5 separate regions of the Homo sapiens genome follow, and regions 1, 2, 4 and 5 are each linked to region 3. The links are contacts of gene promoters, found by promoter capture Hi-C in blood cells and fetal thymus (Javierre and others, 2016). All regions are on one chromosome and are shown on one strand. The core of a region is centred on a gene start or on the middle of the fragment in contact, and the rest is flanking DNA. Distances in the headings are between cores, read along the strand shown. Region 1 has its middle 120 kb from the start of MIR4689. Region 2 holds the start of NPHP4 (nephrocystin 4). Region 3 holds the start of AJAP1 (adherens junctions associated protein 1). Region 4 overlaps NPHP4 (nephrocystin 4). Region 5 overlaps NPHP4 (nephrocystin 4).

The links. Contacts are between HindIII fragments. The CHiCAGO score rates a contact against its expected background, and 5 or more counts as called.
Region 1: a contact is called between a fragment that was not itself captured here and the fragment with the promoter of AJAP1 in region 3, in 1 of 17 cell types (naive CD8 T cells). The highest score is 5.5, in naive CD8 T cells.
Region 2: a contact is called between the fragment with the promoter of NPHP4 here and the fragment with the promoter of AJAP1 in region 3, in 1 of 17 cell types (endothelial precursors). The highest score is 6.4, in endothelial precursors.
Region 4: a contact is called between a fragment that was not itself captured here and the fragment with the promoter of AJAP1 in region 3, in 1 of 17 cell types (endothelial precursors). The highest score is 5.9, in endothelial precursors.
Region 5: a fragment that was not itself captured here is called in contact with the fragment with the promoter of AJAP1 in region 3 in 2 of 17 cell types (total CD4 T cells and naive CD8 T cells); the score reaches 5.7 in total CD4 T cells.

What each region holds. Positions count from the first base shown.
Region 1 is chr1:5,743,732-5,746,598 of GRCh38, reverse strand. No RefSeq gene overlaps it. Among named protein-coding and RNA genes, the nearest start is that of MIR4689, 120 kb to the left of the region's middle. RefSeq lists an enhancer at 5-801. The HindIII fragment of the contact is 4,867 bases long and covers 1-2,867 here.
Region 2 is chr1:5,991,166-5,993,890 of GRCh38, reverse strand. NPHP4 (nephrocystin 4) reads left to right here and starts at 1,466. Exons shown (of 30, transcript NM_015102.5): 1 at 1,466-1,647. It also overlaps a transcript of KCNAB2 not described here. RefSeq lists enhancers at 117-166, 2,043-2,725 and silencers at 917-1,166, 1,247-1,426, 1,467-1,636, 1,787-1,966. The HindIII fragment of the contact is 3,854 bases long and covers 428-2,725 here.
Region 3 is chr1:4,653,278-4,656,049 of GRCh38, reverse strand. AJAP1 (adherens junctions associated protein 1) reads right to left here and starts at 1,441. Exons shown (of 6, transcript NM_018836.4): 1 at 596-1,441. The coding sequence starts at 624. The HindIII fragment of the contact is 10,824 bases long and covers 1-2,772 here.
Region 4 is chr1:5,970,996-5,973,695 of GRCh38, reverse strand. The region is part of intron 3 of NPHP4 (nephrocystin 4); the gene reads left to right. Among named protein-coding and RNA genes, the nearest start is that of NPHP4, 20 kb to the left of the region's middle. RefSeq lists an enhancer at 1,580-2,079. The HindIII fragment of the contact is 8,814 bases long and covers 1-2,700 here.
Region 5 is chr1:5,904,693-5,907,560 of GRCh38, reverse strand. It overlaps NPHP4 (nephrocystin 4), which reads left to right. Exons shown (of 30, transcript NM_015102.5): 13 at 339-446; 14 at 1,778-1,929; 15 at 2,078-2,269; 16 at 2,757-2,868. Among named protein-coding and RNA genes, the nearest start is that of MIR4689, 43 kb to the right of the region's middle. The HindIII fragment of the contact is 187 bases long and covers 1,181-1,367 here.

The DNA.
Region 1 (2,867 bases), core at 359-2,858, 1.1 Mb before region 3:
GGCTGCAGGCTGTTTGCTCCCAGAAATCATGCAACAGACAAAGCCGGAGGTCCTGGCACTTGGTGCGATGTTGGCTCCCCGGGGAGCCACGCTCAGACAGCACCGGCACAGACGTCATGATTGAGACCAGGGCTCAGGGTCCAGGGTCCAAGGTCCAGGTGCTGCCATCAGTGGCCTGGGGGCTGTGAATGGGATGGCAGAGCCCTTCCAGGTCTAGGACCTGGCCAGGGACCCAGTCCAGGTCAGCGTCCCTTGTCTGCAGTGCCGATTGGCTGGGCTCTGGGCAGGACAGTCCTCATTCACTTGCTTGTCGTTGGTGGCAGGACTGTCATGGCCAGAGGATCCCTGGTGCTAACTGGCCTCCCCTGTCAGCTGCTGCCTGAGCAGAAAAGGGAGCAACTACAGGGCAGCCTTTCCCGGAGCCCCCTCTTCCCTTCTGAGCGCCTGCAAAAGGTGCTGGGTGCTGGCCACGCTGCCCTGCCTGCCTGGCTCTGGCCCCCCCCAGAACCCTTCGCAGGGGCTCTCCCAAGCATGGGGAGCTCCTGGACCAGCGCCCTCCTCCTTAGGGTCTGGGAGTTAAGTCCACGTCTTGGTGCCATGCCCCATGGCTGCCACCAGGGGTCAGCAGGCCCATGGCGGGTTGCAGGGTGGATGCTGTGGCCGGAGGAGCGGCAGGGACGGGAGTTCTGAGGGGTAAAGCTGGCAGCAACCTGGACGCAGGCATTGGCTGGTGTCTTGGAGGTCAACCCTGGCCAGGCCCTCTGGCTGGCTGAGCTGTGGTCTTTAGCCACTGGGGGCATAGGGGGTGTCAGCTGCCTTGGAAGAGCTACAGGGGTCCCAGTTGCTGACGCTGGTGCCTTCTGGGGGACCCCAGGCAAAGCTCAGTGCTCATGACCGTCATGACCAAGGTGGCGTTCGGAGTCATTCCAAGCAGTCTTTAAATCCTGTGTGGCCTTGGGCCACTTCCTTTACCTCTCTGAGCCTCAGAGAACTTTCCATCTGCAAAATGGGAGAAATGATCAAAGGGCTGTTGGAAGGATCCAACGAAATAACACATGCAAAGAACTTAGCACAGGCTGGCGTGACACGGTCACGCAATAAACCGTACAATTGTCATTACTGTCATCAATAGAGTTTTCAGGGGGATCGTCCTGTCTGTCATCGTCTTCTCCAGGATGCTCCTGCTGGTTTTTAATGTTTCTAATCTCCTGTTGATTATTCTTGGGGTTTCAGCCAAATAAGTACTGCCAATTAAAGCTCTTGCTGTAGCTCCGGGTGGGGTTGCCATGGCAACGGGAGCAGAGCTTTCACTTCTTCCTTGGAATACACACACACGTGTGTGAGTCTTTTTGTGGGTTTCTGCCCGTGTGTCTAGCTGTTACCAGAACTCCCTGCCGCGGAGCCGGAGGTGGCAGGTGGGAAGAGAGAGGGAGGAAAGTGGGGCATGGGGTGGCATGTGGGGGCCCCTCCTCCTGCACGGAGCCCCCTTCAGCCTGGGAAGCCTTTGCCTGGGATGCTGCAGCCAGCGTTATGAGGGAACGAACGTGGGTTTCCCCGTGCAAACTTGCTCTGCCCCCGCAATGGCCTCAGGGGCCCTGTCCAGCCTGGTTGGCAGGATGAGGCTGTGCTGGGTGACGGACAGCCCTGCCTGAGTCTTCAGAGCGTCACAGATGTGTGTGTGCCTGTGTGTTGTCTCTGTGTGTATCTGTGTGTGTGTCTCTCTGTGTTCCTGTGTGTCTGTCTGTGTGTCTGTATGTCTTTTTCTGTGTATCTGTGTATGTGTCGTGCTTGTGTGTGTCTGTGTGTATTTCTGTGTGTGTCTGTGTGTTTGTGTGTATCTGTGTCGCTTTCTCAGTTTGTGTGTCTTTTCCTGTGTGTGTCTGTGTGTCTCTTTGTGTGTACGTGTGTGTGTCTCTGTGCCAGTGACTCTGTATCTGTGAGCGTGCGTGTGTGTTGGGGGCTTGAGTTGGTCATCAAAGCTGAATCTCAGACAGGCTACAGGATTCTAAACTCAGCTCAGGCCTGGGGTTAATTGAGGTCCAGGGAGGGGCTGAGCTGGAAGCAGAGCTGGGGGCTCACTCTGACCTCTGGCTTCTCTGAATTCCAGATGCAGTCAGCATCAGGCCTACCCCCGTGTCAGCACTGGGAGCTCCTGGAAGGAGGGCCGGCTCTTGGATGTGGGGATTGGCTGGGACTTTTTTCAGTTGAAAGGGTCAAAGTAGCGTGAGTAAAATTAAATAAATACATGGAAGAAAGAAAGAGAGAAAGGAAGGAAGGGAGGGAGGAAGGAAGGAAGGGAGGGAGGGAAGAAGGAAGGGAGGGAGGGAGGAAGGGAGGGAGGGAGGGAGGAAGGGAGGGAGGGAGGGAAGAAGGAAGGGAGGGAGGGAGGGAAGAAGGAAGGGAGGGAGGGAGGAAGGGAGGGAGGGAGGAAGGGAGGGAGGGAGGGAAGAAGGAAGGGAGGGAGGGAAGAAGGAAGGGAGGGAGGGAGGAAGGGAGGGAGGGAGGGAAGAATAAAGAAAGAAAAAGAAAGAAAAAAAGAACACCCCCCCAGGTGCACATGGAGACTCTGCGCTGGGGCCCAGTTACCCAGGGTCGAGGCCCAGCCAGCTTCACTCAGAGCTGGATCTGGGCTCTGTGAGCGTGGCAGGCCCGACTTTCTCCAGAAAAGTGTTTGGAGCCCTGTGGCTGGGCTGGAGCTGGATGTCTTCTGTAAAGGGGCAGAGCTTCTTGCTGGTAGTGTGGACACAGCAGATCTCATGGAAGGGTGGGACCAGCCTTGCTGGGGTCCAGCACCCAGGCCTGGGCCACCTCAGGGCTTGGGGACGGTGGTCGTTGGCTGGGTCCAGGTCTCCTTTCCCCAGGGCTAG
Region 2 (2,725 bases), core at 217-2,716, 1.3 Mb before region 3:
GCCCTGCTAACCGCAGGGTCAAGACCCCTGCCTTCAGCTCCGTAGCCAGGTCCCTATCACGACAGGAAGCAAGAAAGTTACCAACCCCAAAAATGCTGAATCACAAAGTGAGGCTGAGCAGGAAAGTGGGGGTGGGGAGGGAAGGAGACGGTGGCCAGGGAGGAAAGGTGCTAAGGGGCTTTCCACCTGGAGCACCCCGGGATGCTGCGGGCAAAGCACAGTCCCTGTAAGAGCCCCCAGGACAAATGCCAGGAGGAGGGACACCAGGATGCGGCTGGTTGGCGGGGTGGGAAGGTGGGCAGGTACCCCGGCTGCTGCTAATGCCGCAGGACGCGGTGCAGCAGTGGGGTCTTTGCATCCTGGGAGCAGCAGCAGGTAGGGAGGTGCGGAAGTGCTTTGTGCCAAGGCCTGGCAGGAGGGAGAAGCTTAAGATAGGAGTAGGGGCTCAGGGTCAGAAGTGGCGGTGTGTGTGCTGTAAACAGCCCGAGGAACTGGTGCAGGAAGCAGGGTCACAGTCTTGGGGAGCAGGGTAAGGTGGTGAGAGCGTGCCCGCGGGGAGAGGTCGGAGGGGCTGGGGGCAGAATGGGAGGGTGGGGAAAGGGACCGGAGCGACACAGGGACAGGCAGCGAGAACGACGGATGAGCCTTGAGAAGCGATCAGGAGGAGAGATGGGGAGGACCGGGAACAGCAGCGCCCCGGTGGGGCTGCGCAGAGGCCGGGAGAGGGGATGAGAGGAGGATGGAGGAAAGGGGAGGGCGAGGCTGCTAGGACCGGAGCGGGCAGAGATGGGGAAGAGGTGCACCGGGAAGAGGGACGGCGGCAGGGGCAGGGGTCAGGGATGCGAGCTGAAGGGTCGGGCGGGCGGGAGGACAGGGAAGGAAAGACAGAAAGGGATGGGGGAAGGGAGACGATGGAGAAGGAGGTGAGGAGGCTGGAGAGGAGGTGAGACAGCGGCGGAGGCAGGGACGCAGGGCCGGGGAAGAAGAGATGGAGACGGGACCGCGGCGCCTGCCGCAGCGCGGGCCTCGCGGATACCCGCCGCCGCCGTCCCGGAGCAGCTTGGTGGAAAGCGCGCCCCGCCGGGGTCTCCCCGGTACTCACCTGGGGGCTCCAGCTCCGGATCCTGTGCCCCGCGCCGGATCTTCCTTCCCGCCCTGCCCCTGCGACTTTAGCGCCCCCGAATCCCGCTAGCTCCTGCAGGTTCCGCCAGCAGCATCTTCACCTCGTGGGACGCCCGGGGCCACGCCTCTTCCAGCTTCTGATTGGCTATTGTTCACGCCAGTCACATTACCATTGGTTGAGGGGTCGTCGGACATGCAAATCAGGATGGGCCCGCCGCCGCACCGATTGGCTGGCGCTCGCAAAGCGCAGCCCTCGACTTGGGCTCTGATTGGCTCCGCGGCCCTGACGGCGACAGTGACGCGAGGCGGGTTCTTGGACTGAGTGTGCGGCGCGGTGCGCCGCCTTCCGAGGCTCCTCCCGCGGGTGGCAGCGGACGGGGCGCGCCCCTCGGCCAGTCCTCGGTCCTCAGGCTTGTGGCTCCGTTGAGCACCGGCCGCCGGGCCTCTGGGTCCGTCGAGTGGAGACTCTCTGAAAAGCGTGGGCTCCGTGGCCTCCGGCGCGGCCGCGGCGGGTCGGTCTCCTAGGTAACGCGGCCCGCGGCGGGCGGAACCATGTGGGCCGGCGCCGCGGGGGAGGTTGGACGCGGCCTCGAGGCACAGGGGGCCTCAGTGTTGGCCAGAGCCTCGGGGTTCGGGGGTAGGGTGGTCCACGCCGTCCCTGCGTGGGGGCCCGGTGCCTGGGGTGCGGCGGTGGCGCGCGGCGGGGGCTGTCCCCGCGTTAGTCGCAGGCGTCCCCCCTCGTCGGGACACTTGGGGTCGGGGCCGCTGGGTGCCGTTTGGCTACGTGGGTTCCTTTCTGCCCTTGCCCTTTGCCCCCTGCCCCCTGCCCCCTGCCCCCTGCCCCCTGGCCTCTCTGCAGCCCCTCGGCTGAAGGGAGCGCGGTACCGATGTTCTGGGCCTTGGCTCCCCGCGCCCTAGTCCGCGCGCATCCTTCCCAGGCCGGAGTCCGCGGACCCCGCCTGGCCGCGCCCCTCCGCCCCTCCTCCCCGCCCCCCGGCTCCAGCTCCGGCTCCGGCTGTCAGTTCCCCGCGGTGGCTCTGCGGCCTTCGGGCGTCCCTGCGAGGCTTTGTACCCGGCGCCGTCCCGGCCTTCTGCGCCCCTTTCCTGCCTTGGAACCTCCCGGCCGACCCGGCCCGGAAGGCGCCACCCGCTCCCGCGTGCCCTTCCCCACGCGTGCAGGCTGCTCCCGCCCGCCCCCGGGCTTGCAGGCACCTCGCTGCCCGAGATTCCTCGTGTCTAACTTCTTAGGAGACCGCTGCTTTCTGCCTCCGTGTGTCGCGATGTGTGGCTTTGGTGGACGTCTGTGAAGGAAATCCAGCCTCTCGCGTGTGTAGTTGGCAAAAGGAGGAGTATTTCTGTTGATGGTGGGCAGCGCCTCCCGGTCCTAACCCAGGGCTCCGTTCGTTGCACCTCCTCTGTGCAGTTTCCGTAGGTCACACTTGTGTCTTTTTGTATGCTAATTTGTGCCCCGTTTCTTTACATTCTATGGGGGTAGCGAGCTTGTCTGCTGTGTTCAAGACCGTTTCTCCCGGGCGCAGGGTAGGTGCTGAAAGAATGCTCATGAATGAGGGAATTCCAGGCAGTGCTTAATCAGACCTCTGCT
Region 3 (2,772 bases), core at 192-2,691:
CGCCAGCTGTGAGCGCCCGTCGGGCCCGGAGGTCACCCGCAAACAGCTGGGTCGGCAGCTGGGAGCCTGGGAGGCCCCTGCTCAGCCCCGGGGCCCCGAGAAAGGAGAAGGGGGAGCGGAGTGGCTGTTTGGCTGTGGTTTCCTCCAACTCCGCCTGCGAAGCTCTCGCTGGGAGCCCGGAGCTTTAGCTTTCCCCGGCAGCCCCGGCCCCCGCGCCCGCCGCGCCCAGCGGCCGGCGCCTCGCCCCGGGCCCCGGGGAGGAGGCGCGCCGGGGCAGCCGGCCAGGACACTGCGCTGCTGGCTCCTAGAGCTGCGGGCGCGCCTGGCCGGCCCCACTTCCCGGGTTGCTGGGGCGGGCGCCGCTGCCCCGACCCCGGACGCGCGGAACCCTGGAGACCCGGCCGCTCCCCGCCAGGGCCGCGGTGCTGCTCCAGGCTCCGGGCGGGCGCCCCTTTCCGGCTACCGGTGCACCCCGTTGCCCGCTTGCGGGAAGCGAAGAGGGGTCCCTTGATTTGCAACATAGAGGAAAGCGCCGCTTCCGCCCAGCCTGGCACCCACGCGCCCACACGCACCCGGCGCCGGCCGGGTCGCTCACCTGAGTCCTAAAAGCTGTTGAATCCACATGGTCACGTTTCGGGGAGCGGGGCCTCAGACCTGGCTCGCCCAGGCCATCTGCGCGGCGCCCGCGCCCGCTCGCTTCCGTCCCGCGGCGCCGGTCTCCGGCTCTCGGTCCGCCGCCTCCCGCCGCCCGCCGGCCGCGGGGCGCACAGCGAGTCAGAGCGCGGCCGCGCGGGGCTCCATGCCGGCCGGCGCGCCGCCGCCGTTGGGGCGCATGGCTCAGGCTGGGCGGCCCGCGGGGGCGCACATCCTCCGGCCGGGGCGCGGGGCTCGCGGCCCCCTCCGCCGGCGGCACAGCGAAGGCGGCAGCGAGGCGGGGCGTGTTCCGGCGCTGTCGCGGCGCAGCAAAGGGCTGGGGAGCCGCGGCTTCGCCCTCCGGGGCGGCGAGGAGGGAGGCCGGCGGCGCTGCCGCTCACGGTGCGTGTCTCCCGGCGCGCGGCTCTTGCCTCCAGCCGGAGCTCCGCGCCGATGGGGCGGCGCTGCTTAGGGTTTGGGGTGACGCGACGCGGACGGACGCGAGTCCCCTCCGCGCTGCCGGGTCGGGGGGCTCTGCCAGAGGCTCCGCCGCCGATCGGCGCCACTCAAGTTGCCCGGGGGCTCCGTCTGAGCGCTCGCTCTGCAGACGGCCGCGGCCCGGAGACTGGCAGGAGGCGGGCACGAGAGGCGCGCGGGGCGAGGGCGCCGTGGAGCGCGGGGCGTGGGGACGCGCGGCGGCGGCGCCGCGCGGAGGAGGCGCGCGGGGATCCCGGGGCCCCGCCGCCCGCGCCCACCGCGCCCGCCGCAGAGCCGCCCGCGCTGCTCAGCCGCCTCCCTCCTCGCGTCTGCCTCTCCGCGCGCTCGCCCCCGCCTCCCGGAGCCGGTCCCAACTCCGCCCGCCCGGCCCGGCTCACGTCACCCGCCTTCCCCGCCCCTCGAACGGGAGCTCGAGCCCCTGGCCTGGCCCCGGCTCCTGCTCGCCGCCCCACCTTGCGGGGGCCGGGGTCGCCGCGGGTGGTGGGGGGCGCTGTGCCCAGCAGGGGCGACAGCGCAGGCGGGGCCTCCTGCAGCCCCCTTCCCCATCCCCGGTCGCGTCCCGGTCCCCACCTTGCGAAAGGCTCGAGAGAGGCCGCAGGCTAGGATTGGACCGCCGGGCGCCGCCGGATGGTGTTGCCAGGGTAACCGGATGGCACGCGAAGCCGTTCGAGGTTCCGACCCGGTTACGGGGGCGCCCAGTGGACCCGGAGAGCTACTTTGGGGAGGGGGCGGCCCCGAAGAAGGACTGGGTGGGGGCGCATGGAGCGGGGGCTGCGCGAAAAGTTTCCTGGGGCGGAGCTGAGCCACGCGGGCCGCGCAGGAGCGTCTGTCCGAGGGTCGCCTACGAGGGACTCCTCTGCTCGGCTGCGCGGGCTTCTGCGTTGATGAAGTCACCGCGTTCCGGGTCGGAGCTTCGGCGCTTCTGCCCCGAACCCAGCGAAGCCCGGTCCTATGCCCCCAATTACCCAACGGTCCCTCATCGCCCAGCGCAGCTGCTGCCTGGCCAGGCCCTTGCTCCGGAGGAGTCACTGGAAAGTTCCAGGGAATCTGGGCCTCCCGGACTCTCCACCGGCGTTTCACTGCTCCCTTCCCATGCCAGGACTCCTCTGTGCCTACCTGGTTAGTCTGTATTTGCAAAAAACAAACAAAAACAACAACAAAAAACAAATGGGGGGCACTTAAAGGAGGACAGACGCTGGGCGGGGACCTTTCACTGAGAGAAGTGACATGGGGCGGAATCCTCTGCAGACCCGCTGACGCCTTGAGAAACCACGGCAAAACCCTGCTTTTAATCCTCCACAGGCTGAGGGCAGTGCAGAATCCGGGCCTTGGAAAGGACACTGGTGCCACCCTTCACTGGGGAAAGGTGCAAGGGGCGGGGGATATACCATGCCGAGCCTTCGCTCTGTGCTCTGTGCAGGTGCTTGACCCAGGCCAGCTCTGGAATCGCCCCAGGCCATGTGAGAGCCGTGGGGGGTGAGAGGGGCGGGAAGCACTTCACAGGTGAGGCCTCCCTGGGAGGGGCAGCCAGTGAGGGGGTGGAAGGGCAGAGCCAGGAGGACCATGGCTTGGGGCTCAGTCTCCCAGGCGAACCATAGCTTGGGGCTTAAGTCCCCCAAGCAGCCCTTTCACCCCCAGGCC
Region 4 (2,700 bases), core at 137-2,636, 1.3 Mb before region 3:
TGTACAGTGATTGAACTGTCAGTCATCTGGGGACAATGGAAAGCTGTAAGTTTGTCAATTTTGTTGTTGTGTGTTCACAGCAGCATAGTGTGGGATCTTTCTTTTCTAAGAGATGGGGTCTCACTATGTTGCCCAGGCTGGAGTGCAATGGTGCGATCATAGCTCATTGCAGCCTTGGACTCCTGGGCTCAAGTGATCCTCCCTCCTCAGCCTCCCAAGTAGCTGGGACTACAGGCATGCATCACCAGACCCAGCTAAATGTTTTTATTTTGGTAGAGCTGGGGTTAGATATTTCTTGCTTTGGGTTATAATCATGTCTGCTCACTTACTTTTCTAAGTAAGCCAAGGAGTTGCTCTTTAGGCCAGAGGGAGAACTGGCTTTCGCCATGGGCGTCGGAGTTGAGGTAGGATGGGCTAGTGTCCTACTCCATCACTGATCCCAGTGGGACTTCAGACAAGTGCTTTAAACTCCTTGATCCTAGAGGGTGAGGGATAAAAGACTACAAATTGAGGCCGGGTGCAGTGGCTCATGCCTGTAATCCCAGCACTTTGGGAGGCCCAGGTGGATGGATCACTTGAGATCAGGAATTTGAGACCAGCCTGGCCAACATGGTGAAACCCTGTCTCTACTAAAAATTTAAAGATTAGCTGGGCGTGGTGGCACACACGCGTAATCCCAGCTACTTGGGAGGCTGAGGCTAGAGAATCACCTGAGCTCGGCGGGTGGAGGTTGCAGTGAGCTGAGATTCACGCCACTGCACTCCAGCCTGGGTGATAGAGCAAGACTCTGTCAAAAAAAAGAAAAACCAAACAAAAAAAAACCCTACAAATTAGGTTCAGTGGATACTGCTCGGGTGATGGGTGCACCGTAATCTCACAGATCACCACTAAAGAGCTTCCTCATGTAACCAAATACCACCTGTTCCCCAAAAACCTATGAAAAAAAAGAAAGAAAGAAATTAAATTAATTTGCAAGAAAAAAATAAGCTCCTCCTGACTTGATTCATTTGCTCATGAGAGATAAAGAGTGTGCATCCCCTAAGTGCTGCTGGAGTATTTAGTCATGTGCTTTTCCATAAGCAGGGACCCAGTGGGCAGTAGTTTTTATTCAAGAAATGTTGGTTAAGGGTCTTCTGTGTGCCAGGCTGTGTTTAGGAGCTGGAAGTGCAGAGATGGATAAGATGTTGTATTATCCTTTCAGCCAGGATTAAAGTTTACATTTTTACTCCAAATGAGAGTTTCTCAACCTTGGCACTGCTGACATTGTGGGCTGGATAATTCGTGGGGCAGGGGGCTGTCCCTGTCCCTGTCATGATGCTTTGCTGTGGAAATCTGGGCTCCCCCGATCCCTGCTGTCTTTGAGGGGTAGTGTCTGGGAAGCCCTCCGAACCCGCAGTGTGAGTCTGAGCCAGAGGGTAGGAACTGCATGAAGTCTCTGCATTGTTTGCCTGGCTGAAGATATCCTGTTAAAGGCTTATTAAAACAGTTCTTTGGAAGGGACTCATTCTGTTCCTGCTCAGCTCCTCTCTGGCCTTGCTGCCCAGCGTTGTCTGAGGAGCCCATGTCATGCAGGTGCCAGGTCATGTGGCCGTGCCATGGGGGGTGCCCGGCTGCGGCCTCTTCATCCAGGCACATCGGCAGAGGCCCAATTCCACTTCCATCACTGCGGGTGAAAAATGGAAACTGGGCCCCGAGGCAAAATGGTGTCCGTGTTTTTGAAGATGAAGGCATTAAGACAGGAGCATTTAAATGATTTATTAATCTGTTTATGCTGTCAAGGAGGAAACTTGACCAGTGCAGATAAGTGAGCTGCGAGGCAGGGGTGACAGAGAGCCCGTCTCCCTCTGTCTCCAGTGACCTTGCCCTGCAGGCGATTTGATGGGCTTGACTTAACCTTTTAATAGTGCAGTTTCAGTTGATGTAGAGAATGTTCCTTTCCAAATGTATGGCAGTGGCGCTCGTTAAGTTTCCCTAGACTGAAGGATGTGTGTACAGGTATTCCTCAGCTGGGTGCTGCCTGGCTGAGTGAGGCGGGAATTGGGTGGTCAGGCACCGGTGACCTGGTCGAATATGACTTTGCTGGGGTGACCCGAGGGGTGCAGCCATGTGGCTCTGTTGCTCGCAGTTTTGTGCCTGCCTCATCTGTCGTTTATGAAGCCTTCGAGGCTCGAGCTTCTTGAAAGCTGACTTGTGTTTTCCAGGTTCGTTATAAATTCTTTAGCTTGGGGCTGTTCCCACACTGGAGGGTCAATAAATGATTTTTGGAAAAGAACATATGTCCTTATCAATCAGTAATTGTACTGGTACAACCATCTGAACTTTTCAAACATGCTGCACTTGGAGCGGCTGACTCTTCTGATTAAAGATGGATTCTTTAGATTCTAAGGTTGGATCAGCTGAGACAAGCAGCTCTGGGGCTCTGTTGCTGTTGTTGTTGTTTTTGGCCTCAGAGTGATTATTTTTAGTGGTAAACAGAAGGGAGAGGCATAGCCATAAACTTGTATTTGGGACATGCCCGTAGCGGCAGGTTCCACCCGGTTCAGGTAGAGTAATTTCAGGGTGACCTCTAGGCTGGCAGATTGTTGTTGCTGGGTATCAGAGTTGAAAATGTTTATTGCCAATAGAAAAAGTGAGTAGTGTTCGTAAGACTGATAAGCACAGGTATAAATAGAAAAGGTGAGTTAATGACCAACTCGACTT
Region 5 (2,868 bases), core at 25-2,524, 1.3 Mb before region 3:
TCCAGTGCTGGCAAGGGACAGAGAGGCAGAGGCCAGGCCGCCCCTGTAGCTTGAGATGCTTTCTCCTTTCTTGCTTGTTTTCCTTGTTAATAATATTCTTATTCAGATATTATGATCTGGGGGAGATCATGGAATCACCTCTCTGTCATTAAATAAAGGAACTTGAGAAGCGGTCCCAGGTTCCAGAGCTGCCCTGGCCAGGAGGCTGCAGGCATCACTCCCTTCCGTGGCTGGATCCAGGGCTACCCCGTTCCCCGGTGTGGCCAGTGCATGTTGGGAGCTTTGTGGACGGACTGGCAAGCTTCTGAGCCCCTCACCTGTGCTCTCTTTCCTTCCAGTTGTCAATTTCCCAGCTGGCGGCCTCCCCGCGGTCCCCGACTCAGCACTGCTTGGCCAGGCCTACTTCACAGCTACCCCATGGCTCTCAGGCCTCCCCGGCCCAGGCAGTAAGTGCCGCCCACCTGCCGCCTTGCCTTCCACCAAGGAATGGCTCCACAGCTCCTCATTTTGGGTTTTTGCACTGTGCCTGTCCTTAGTTAGGTGGCAGAGACCTTGGCGGGTTACCTGGGATGTGGGTGGGAGTGGGGCATTGCTTACTCTGAGGCCTCAGACAGTTGTCACCATTCTGTCTTGGAGACCAAAGAAGAATGTGGCCCATGAGTTCTTCATACCACAGCGCTTGACTCAGATTGTGCTCTACCCATGAAAACAAAGTTAAGCTACCCCTAGGTCTCTACGTGAAAGTAAAAGGAAGGTGTGGCTATATCTATAGACAGGCTGAGACAGGCACCCAGCACCCCAGGACCCTCCTTGCTATCAGCAGCTAAAGGAGGTGAGTGGAGCCCGCCATCCTGGCTTCAGGGTGTGCTCCTGGCTAAGACTGGCATTGCCACTGGCCTTGGGGAATTCCTATGGAGTTTGGTTTCCAAAGTCGGCTGGTTCACCTGCAAACTGCATCTTTGGTCTTAACTGGAATTATGTTGAGGAAAAATAGTTTCTTTTAATTCCTTGTTTGAAAACACTCCTAGCACCATGAGTCTCTGCTGCTTTATCTAAAGCATCTCTGGGGCTCATGTGTTTGTGAAGAGCTTGCCTAGCTTTTTATTATTGGCGCATGAGACATGGTGTGAGGGTGACCTGGTTTCCTCTGGGCTGAAACAGAAAGCTTGGGAATGAAGCTTGAGAGAGCACATTCCCAACTCCCAAGCCAGCTCCTCTCTGAGAGGCCTGCCTCGGCCTTGGAGGGGAGTGGAGGTGGAATACGAGTGAATGACAAGAAGTTTCAGGGGCTGTGGGGACAAGAGACTGTCCAAACACGCCAGCCAGGGGCTCGGTGCCACAGTTTATCTTGGAGTATTGAGGAAGCTTCATCTTTCTGTTCTATAAACATGCTTTGATATGAATTTACCATCTCAGGTGTCAGGTATCTCCCACGGTCCTGACCTGCTCATAAAATTAGGATTCCCTCCTCACCGCTTCTCAACTCACACATTGGATTGCCACGTGAAATATAGGATGCCCAGTTAAATTTGAACCTCAGGTACACAACAAATAATTTTTTAGTGTAAGTATATCCCAAATATCGTAGGGACCATACTTATACTAAAATCATTTGTTGTTTACCTGAAATTCAAGTGTAATTGAACCTTTTGTATTTGCTAGAGCTGGCAACCCTCCAGAGGCAATTAATCGATGAATCCCCTTAGATCTGAGCACCGTTGGTTGTTACGGGTTGGGGTCCTTGGTGGCCTCACTTGGAAGCCCTCGTTTTGTTCAGCAGGAGTTCCCGTTGGAGGCCGGTATCTCCCACCTGGAAGCCGACCTGAGCCAGACCTCCCTGGTCCTGGAAACATCCATTGCCGAACAGTTACAGGAGCTGCCGTTCACGCCTTTGCATGCCCCTATTGTTGTGGGAACCCAGACCAGGAGGTGAGGTGTGGGTCTGGGTGGGATGGAACCAGTCACGTGCTGTGCCGTCAGACTGTTGGACCTTGTGAACCCCAGGGTTTCCACAGGGAGGTGCATCAATGGGTCCCCCCTTTCCCGGGAGGCTACCTGAGGAGTCTCTGTGTCTCAGCTCTGCAGGGCAGCCCTCGAGAGCCTCCATGGTGCTCCTGCAGTCCTCCGGCTTTCCCGAGATTCTGGATGCCAATAAACAGCCAGCCGAGGCTGTCAGCGCTACAGAACCTGTGACGTTTAACCCTCAGAAGGAAGAATCAGATTGTCTACAAAGCAACGAGATGGTGCTACAGTTTCTTGCCTTTAGCAGGTAAATCCTTGAATATTCTGTTACTCATCTGGCTTTCACATTTCCTGTGTTGAAGAGAAACTTCGCTGAGGTTCTGACCTGGCAGAACTGTCTGTGCTGAGGTCTTAGTAGATTCGGGAGTGCCATCTGTTTTTATCTTCTCTTGGCTAGGACCCACCCACAGCATGCTAAATGCTGTGAAAGCTGCTTTACCCCATCTTTTGTGGTCCTTCATTAAAATGTGGACGGTGGGTTGTCCAGGTCTTAGATCTTAGTGTAGCTCCAAAGGCAGCTTCTCTAGCCGGGAGTGTCCTTACACTCGAGAATGCTGCTGTCTGGCCGGCTTGCTGAGAGCACAGCAAAGCGGTTGCATTGGTGACCACGGCAGCCTCTTTACTGTTCCCCAGCGACTAAGGTGCCTGGACCATCCCCTATGCAAACACACATTAGACCCCTCAGGTTCTGTGCCATGGATACTCAGTTAACCCAGAGCTGTTGTTGGATTCAGAGTGGCCCAGGACTGCCGAGGAACATCATGGCCAAAGACTGTGTATTTCACCTTCCAGTTCTACCGCTTCCCACCCGCAACGACGCCACGACTGCAGCTGGTCCAGCTGGAT